Linked DNA regions of Homo sapiens: all the other regions are linked to region 2. Evidence: promoter capture Hi-C in human tissues and cell types (Jung and others, 2019). All regions are on one chromosome and are shown on one strand. Each heading gives the region's core, a stretch centred on a gene start or on the middle of the fragment in contact. The rest is flanking DNA. Distances are from core to core; before and after follow the strand shown.

Region 1 (2,700 bases), core at 39-2,538, 530 kb before region 2:
CCATTCCAAACACTTCCTCATACTGCAGAGGCTGCAAAGATAAAAACTATTTCCCAGACTCCCATGCAGCTAACATTCCGCATACAAGTTGGAGTCTACCCCATCAATGGATGAAAAAATAAAGAAAATGTATTTATAAATGATGGAATACTATTCAGCCTTGAAAAAGAAAGAAATTCTGTTATTTGCAACAACATGGATGGAGCTGGAGAACATTATGCTAAGTGAAATAAGCCAGGCACAGACTAATACCACGTTACCACTTGCATGTAGAATCTAAAACAATTGAATCCATAGAAACAAAGTAGAATGGTGGTTACCAGAGGCTGAGGGCTGAGGGGAATAGGGAAAATGATGGTCAAAGGGTACAAGACCTCAGGAGGAATACGTTTGTTTGTTTGTTTGTTTGTTTGTTTGTTTTGAGATCTATTGCACAGCATGGTGAATATAGTTAATAATAGTTGATAGAGTTTGGATATTTGTGCCCATATAAATCTCAGGTTGAATTGTAATCCCCAGTGCTGGAGATGGGGCCTGGTGGGAAGTGATTGGATCATGGGGTGGATCTTTCACGGATTGATGCTGTCCTCACAATAGTGAGTCTAGAGATCTGGTTGACTGAAAGTGTGTGGCACCTCCCCCACCTCTCTATTTCTCTGGCTTTCACCAGTATTAAGTGCTCTGCCTTCCACCATGAATAAAAGCTTCCTGAGGCCTCCCCAGAAGCCAAGCAGATGCCAGGTACCATGCTTGCACAGCCTACAGAACCATGAGCCAATTAAACCTGTTTTCTTTATAAATTATCCAGTCTCAGGTATTCCTTTATAGTAATTTGAGAATGGCCTAATACAATAGTATATGATTGTACATTTCAAATGTACATCATTTGAAGAGTAAATTTCAAATGTTCTTGTGATACCGTAACTTGTATTAAGTTGATTGACTCTCTCTTAGCTGAGAAAGCGAGATGGACTCCATTTGGCTCCTTCCTTTGCAAGACATCAAGGGCTCCTTACCCACCCCCTTCCTCAAGGACTTGTGCAAGCTGACTCTCAGCATATCAAAGAGTGCAATTAACTGATAAGGTACTGTGGCAAGCTATGTCCGCGATTCCCAGGAATTCGCCCAGGTGATGGTACCCTAAAGCCCCTGCATTTGTGTCCAGCAGATAGCACCCAGAGCCCCCGCACCTATCAGCTTGTGATGAATTTAAAACCCCTGCACCTGGAACTGTTTGTTTTCCTGTAACCATTTGTCTTTTTAACTTTTTTTTTTTTTTTTTTTTTTTTTTTTGCCTGTTTTACTTCTGTAAGATTGCTACAGCTAGGCTCCCCGTCCCCTCTCTAAACCAAAGTGTAAAAGAAAATCTAGCCCCTTCTTCGGGGCCGAGAGAATTTTGAGCTCTAGCCATCTCTCGGTCGCCATGTAATAAAAGACTCCTGAATTAGTTTCAAAATGTGGTGTTTCTCTATAACTCGCTTGGTTACAACATTTGGAGGCCCCAGCGAGAAATTCGCCCCTGGGTGAGAGCCCGACTCGTTCCAGGCTCCCCCGGACAGACGGCGGACTTACAGGGGAGGCGCCACCTGAAGACGTTCCAGGGCCCCATAAGACCCTATCTTCCGGAGGGGAACGGATCGACCACCGGTGTGTGCCCACAAAAAATTCAACTCCTAAGTCCTCAGTTTCTAGTCCCGGGAAGGTAAGTCAGATCTGACTCTGTTTCTCTGGGAGGGAAGTGGCTCTGATGAAGGCCGTCCCTTTTTGACTCTGCTCGCATTCCAGGACGCTGGAGGACGGAGTCCTGGTTTTCTGTTAGGCGCCTCTGTGTCTCTCTGAGAGGGAAGCAGCCCTGACGAGGGCCCTCCCGTGACTCTGTCCATATTCTAGGACGCTGGAGGACTGAGTCCTGGTTTCTGGCAGGCCAGCCTCTCCGTTAAGTCTAGGCTGTCTGTCTCTCTCTCTCTCTCTTCTCTCTCTCGCTCTCTCTCTTTCTCTCTCTCTCCTCTCTCTCCCTCCCTCCCTCTTTCTCTATCTCTTCTTCTTTCAGGTCTCCTGGAGACCTCTGTTTTAGAACGGGAATTAAAAAAAAAAACCTGTTGTAAACTCTGTGTGAATCAGTGCATGTATGTGGAGTTCAAGGGCTTGCGCTTGAATTTCCAGTTTGTAGCTCCACCGTGAAAGCTACGGAATTCGAGAGGGCCCTCACCTACTGTTCCGTGGCGACCTCATACGGCTTAAGGCAGCATCTGGCATAGCTCCATCTGAGCCGGGGGTTTATACCGGTCTGCCAATGCGAAGAGGAGCCTAAGTCCCCTCAGGGGGAGCAGCCAGGCGGGCATCTGACTGATCCCATCACGGGACCCCCTCCCCTTGTCTGTCTATAAAAATTGTCATAATTGTTTATATACCCCAGTGTCTATTGTCTTGTTTAGTGTCTATTGTCCTGTCTGGTGTCTGTCTAAGTTTCTTATGTCTGGTCGTTGATATTGCCCAAGACGACTGGGCAAGGACTTCTTCAAAGTCCTGAGTGCAGATTTTCTAACACAGGAGGTCTCAGGCGTGTCTCTTCGGGTTGCCGGGCCCAGGGGCCAGGCGCGCCTCCACCAGTTTACACAACAGCCTCCTTTCCCTCGGCAGAGGCTCCCCGACCTGCAGGCGAGGAGTGGGAGGGGACGGCGCAGGACCCCCTCCCCCAGG
Region 2 (2,700 bases), core at 161-2,660:
CACCTGAAGTCAGGAGTTCGAGACAAGCCTGGCCAACATAGTGAAACCCCATCTCTACTAAACATACAAAAATTAGTCGGGCATGGTGGTGCACAACTGTAATCCCAGATACTCGGGAGGCTGAGGCAGGAGAATCGCTTGAACCCGGGAGGCAGAGGTTGCAGCGAGCTGAGATTGCACCACTACACTCCAGCCCGGGCAACAGAGCAAGACTCTGACTCAAAATAAATAAATAAATAAAATAGATGTTTCCGTCTTCCACAGGGAGGACCAAAAATAAATAAATAAATAAAATAGATGTGTCCGTCTTCCACAGGGAGGACGTGGGATGGTGGCGGAGCTGGCTGCAGCAGAGCTACAAATAAATATAAAATAAATAAAATTAAATAAAATTAAATAAATAAAAGAAAGTTATTTCAAAGGATTGTCTGAGAGGCAAAAACCTAACTGCAGTGAGTTCAAGAGAGAATGGGAGGAGAGGGGAGTTGCAGACTGTGAGTAGGCAACGCTTTTGCTGTAAAGGGGAGTAGGGAAACGGTGAGGGATATAGAGAGGGCTGGTTTTTGTTTGCCTTTGAGATGGGAGAAACAGCAGTACGGATGATGACAAGGATAAATGCAGTCATCAGAGGGAAAAGAGATGAAGGGGGGATTACTAGATCTATGTCCTTAAGCAAACAAGAGGCGATGGGATCTACCGCACACGTGGAGGGGCTGACCTTAATTAAAGTCCAAAGTATGTGGGCTGTGGAATCTCCCTTCCAATCGCAGTAGAACTCAATCCAGGCGGTCTCCGGATTTCTCCAGACCACCTCCACCTGGCGTTGTTCTGAGCTGGGCCACCGAAAGTTGAGATTACTGAATGTGTGTGTCTCCCATTAACCCGTAAGCCCTCCAAAGGCTGCATCTAAGTCGCCTCTGAATTATTCACATTCCTCCAAACTCTGGGCCACAGCCCCGCAATATGGGCTTATTGAATTAGCCCAAAGAGACACAAAGCAGCCTCTACGCAGCTGGTTTCACAAAGGGGGGCGGTCCTAACCCTGCGCTCTGGGATCCTGACGTTCGAGCTATCTCTCCTCCTCCCCTCTGCTCCCAGCTCTCCGCAGTCCAGCTTGTCGGCTGATCATCGTCCATAGAGGCCACCGTACCCGACGTTTGCGGACAGTGACAAAGAGTCAAGCTTGGTGGAGCCTGAGGACAGGACTGAATGACGATTGAACTGAGAGTTCAGGGGCGGAGTTTGAGGGCGAACTCGGGACAGAGACTGGATAGAGTTCAGGGAGGCGGGACCTAATGATGGCGCAGGGAGGGGATTGGGCTGAGGGCGGTGCCGGCGCGAGGATTGGGCCGAGCGCCTCGGGGGCGGTCCTTGAGGGGGCGGTGCCGTGTCGGAAGTCAAAGGTCAGTAAATAGTGGTGATGTCATGCAGGCAAGATGGCGGAAGGGTGAGCTTGTCGTTTTGCTCCTAGGCGTTGGGGCCTGAATTCTCCCAGGGTTGGGGTGCTGGGCGAGAGTCCCGGTGGGGAACGTGAGATCAGCGGGGGCGTGGACTGATCTGAAAGGGCAGAGTGGAGTCGCATTGTGAGGGGGTGGGCAAGCGGTCTGCGAAGCCTCGGCCCGCAGGGTACATCTGAGCGGGGAACAAACCGGATCCTTGGGCGGGCAGGAATCGCACCGCGGTGCTGCCAGATGTGTCTGTCTTCCACAGGGAGGACGTGGGATGGTGGCGGAGCTGGCTGCAGCAGAGCTACCAAGCAGTCAAAGAGAAGGTAAGCCGGGCCCGTGCCCTTCTTCCCTCAGCAGGGCCCTGCGCCGCCTCAATGCAACCTGGTCCAACCAGCCCCGCCCAACTTTTGCGGGCGCTAAGTCTCAAGGATGAGGCTGACCTGGGCCTTTCTTTTAGCCTCTACCGGTCCACGGGAAGACAGACCTCGACGCAAACCAGTGTGATACTAGCCACAGTGAAATAAAGATGGTTTTAAAGGCTGGAGTTAACGAACGTTTTGTAGGAATCCATAGGAAGGAGCAATTTATTCCAGCTCAGGAAATTCAGTTTCTTCGTGAAAGAGAGAGCATTTGATACAGGTCTTGAAGGAAAAGATTCTAGCAGTAAAAAAACTTACTCGTATAGTCATTCAAATATTAGAGTATATGCGACAACCAGCACTCTGATAGGTCTTGAGGATACAGACTTCAGCCAAACAGATGTAATCCTGGGCCTTACAAAGCTCACAGTCTAGTGGAGAGACAGCCATTAACCGAGTAGCCAAACAAATAGTTGTTTAGTTACCGTTGTGGTAAGTTCTGTGAAAGGAAAGTACAGGGGCACCTTGTCTGTTCTGGTTAGTCAGTAACTCACCAGGGAAGGCCCCTGTGGAGAAGGAACCTCATCAAGGGCAACCCTGCCTAGACAGGATGAAAAGCAAGAACCCAAGCCAGAGATGAGCATGAGCCATACACACTGGTGCCTGATGAGTTCTAAGTAGGGGCTATGCAACGGGCAGTAGAGAGAGAGAGATTAATCACCAGAGAGTGGAAGGCCTTCTTGCTGAACAATCTCTGTGGGATGAGTGATATTTGGCTGTGCCAGTGGGTAATTTGCCAATGTGTATTCCTGTTTCATTTCATGCTTATTTGTCAAAATCAGCCCAACTGAATTGTGGGAAAAGTTGATTACTATTTACCTCAAGCAATTGGG
Region 3 (2,700 bases), core at 169-2,668, 790 kb before region 2:
TCTCAGAGGGTAGGGAGAGATCACTTCTACCAGAGGACATAATTGTGGTTTTACTAAACCTAAAATTATATCTGCCTCTGGTAATTTTGGGATCCTCATGACAGCAGACCAGCAAGCTAAGAAAGGAGATTCTGAACAGGCAGGAGTAAGTGACCCCTGCTGGACCAGGTGAGGGGCATCTAGAAAGGGTAGTAGAGTCGGAAGCTGAGCATCAGTTACACTTTAGGACCAACTACAGCAGTGGGGTCTGGAGATTGTCCCTCCTCTTATCTGTTATCCTTTCTACCTCTTCCTCTTCCTTCTTCTCCTCTCTTCTTGTAACAAATCGTGACTTTCCACCACCCAAAGAAGCAGTGACAGAACATGAAACTTAATATGAATGCAAGTTTATCTGAGCAGGTGCAAGGGTGAACTGTGACACATACTGTCAATGCCCTGCCATTGTCCCTCAAACCTGTCAATGTATTCCCAAGACTTCCAACTGCCAGCATCCACATGGTAGCTAAGGGATCATTTTCCCAGAACTACAGAGAGCTGACTGTACACATCACAGTTCACAAGTGCCAAAGAATTAAACACCACCAGGGAGCAGCCTCAACACTCAAACATGGTGTATAAATACCCCAGCTCCCTCACCCTTTGGGTGGGATGCTTCTGAGGCATCGATCATTCTGAGGTTTTGTACCATTTCCCAGAGTTTCCCTGCAGGATAAATCTTCAGTTCCCCTTTGTGATAATAGTGCACCCTTATGGGGCTGCCTTCCCTTCCCTGTATCACCTTCCCACTTCCCTATTAGTGTTACTTATGCTCCCCAAATAAACTATTTTCACTTTAGTCCTTATCTTAAGGTCAGTTCTTGGAAGAACCCATGCTAAGACACATGTGGCTCAAGGACTATGCATTGAGAAGCACTAATTTAGAGAGTGAACTCATTTCTTTTTTTTTTTTTTTTTTTTGAGACGGAGTCTCGCTCTGTCGCCCAGGCTGGAGTGCAGTGGCGGGATCTTGGCTCACTGCAACCTCCACTTCCTGGGTTCAGGTGATTCTCGTGCCTCAACCTCACAAGTAGCTGGAATTACAAGCACCCGCCACCACGCCCAGCTAATTTTTGTTTTTTAGTAGAGATGGGGGTTTCACCATGTTGGCCAGGCTGGTCTCAAACTCCTGACCTCAGGTGATCCTCCTGCCTTAGCCTCCCAAAATGCTGGGATTACAGGAGTGAGCCACTGGACCCAGCCACAACTTTGTTTTATGTGTGTTTCTGCTTAGAGACCCTTATTTAATATATAAATTGTTGATTCACTAGCACTGAACTCACAGCCAACACTACTGTAACTCATGTCTGAACAAAGCTTATCAAGCACACGTATTTTCTCCTTAAGGCACATCACAGCCTTCTTGTGCTTGAGAACACCAGAGAGCACTTCAGCACAATGCTTGGGGCCATTTTAAATAGCAAAATCACCAACAAAAAGGCACAAAAAATGAGAACGGTTCGCACCAAATAAGTCACAAAAAGAATACTTGTTTACACTATGACAGCTGAGACAAGAAGGCAGGGTGTCCCTTTGTTCACCTTCAGCTGGGAACATATGTGTGGGTAAGTCAAGATTTTCACCACTGCACATAAGTATGTCCACAAATAATAGCAATTGTGCCTCAAGTATTGATTTGAAGGTTACAAATAAATTTTAGAAGTAGGTGATTTTGCAAATATGGAATCCATAAATAATGAGGATCAATTTTCTTTATTTTTTCTGATTACAAAAATATATATAATAAACAGAGCTATCTAATGTAAAAGTTAAAGTCCCCCATAATCCCAGCCCACAAAAGAACACAATTAGAATATAGTTCTATAGAATTTTTGTTATGCAAATAATGCCTGTGATTGTGTCTAAGTCTGTGGGTGTCTATGTGTCAGTGTATTTGGGTCTTTCTTTTCTTTTTCTCACTCAACAATAGCTCTTGGATAGCTTTCCAGAAAAAAAAATTCCTGATGTTAATTTCTGGAGTATGAATGGAAGCAGATGGCATACACTGCAGTCAGGATCTCTAAGTCTTAGTTCAGACCACTCAACCACATCAGATGTGGAGAGAGCAATGACTTGCCAAATGTAAAGATAATCAACAGTTTTAGTGTTCTGCATCTTAATGGAGATGGAATAAGGTCAAGAGAAGAACTGCTCAGAGGATAAAAGGACTGAACACTGGGAAGTAAAGTGAAAGAGAAGAGACTGGGTCGGGCACGGTGGCTCACACCTATAATCCCAGCACTCTGGGAGGCCAAGGCAGGCAGATCACTTGAGGTCAGGAGTTTGAGACCAGCCTGGCCAACATGGTGAAACCCCCTCTCTACTAAAAATACAAAAATTAGCTTGGCGTGGTGGCGGGCACCTGTAATCCCAGCTACTCGGGAGGCTGAAGCACAAGAATTGCTTGAGGCTGGGAGGTGGAGGTTGCAGTGAGCCAAGATTGCACCACTTCACTCCAGCCTGGGCAACAGAGCAAGACTCCATCTCAAAAGAAAAAAAAAAGAGTCTGTGACTTTCAGCCAGAGAAAACCACATACTATGTCCTTTGGAGGAGATTAGACCTACATATTAAGACTATCTACTGAAAGGATTTAGACAATAGAGTAAAATAGTACCAGAGCCTCTTCTAAAAACAGCTGCAAAATTGGCTGGGCGCAGTGGCTC

The links. Contacts are between HindIII fragments. The study calls those that stand out against the background at their distance.
Region 1: a contact is called between a fragment that was not itself captured here and the fragment with the promoter of BSDC1 in region 2, in 1 of the 25 tissues and cell types used here (spleen).
Region 3: a contact is called between a fragment that was not itself captured here and the fragment with the promoter of BSDC1 in region 2, in 1 of the 25 tissues and cell types used here (bladder).

The regions. Positions count from the first base shown.
Region 1 is chr1:32,925,126-32,927,825 of GRCh38, reverse strand. No RefSeq gene overlaps it. Among named protein-coding and RNA genes, the nearest start is that of TMEM54, 25 kb to the right of the region's middle. RefSeq lists an enhancer at 2,251-2,700. The HindIII fragment of the contact is 6,638 bases long and covers 1-2,700 here.
Region 2 is chr1:32,393,151-32,395,850 of GRCh38, reverse strand. It overlaps BSDC1 (BSD domain containing 1), which reads left to right and starts at 1,410. Exons shown (of 11, transcript NM_018045.8): 1 at 1,410-1,447; 2 at 1,711-1,771. The coding sequence starts at 1,437. RefSeq lists enhancers at 1-277, 1,025-1,104, 976-1,671, 1,395-1,684, 1,672-2,369. The HindIII fragment of the contact is 8,966 bases long and covers 1-1,957 here.
Region 3 is chr1:33,185,063-33,187,762 of GRCh38, reverse strand. It overlaps a transcript of ZNF362 not described here. Among named protein-coding and RNA genes, the nearest start is that of TRIM62, 4.4 kb to the right of the region's middle. The HindIII fragment of the contact is 4,325 bases long and covers 1-2,700 here.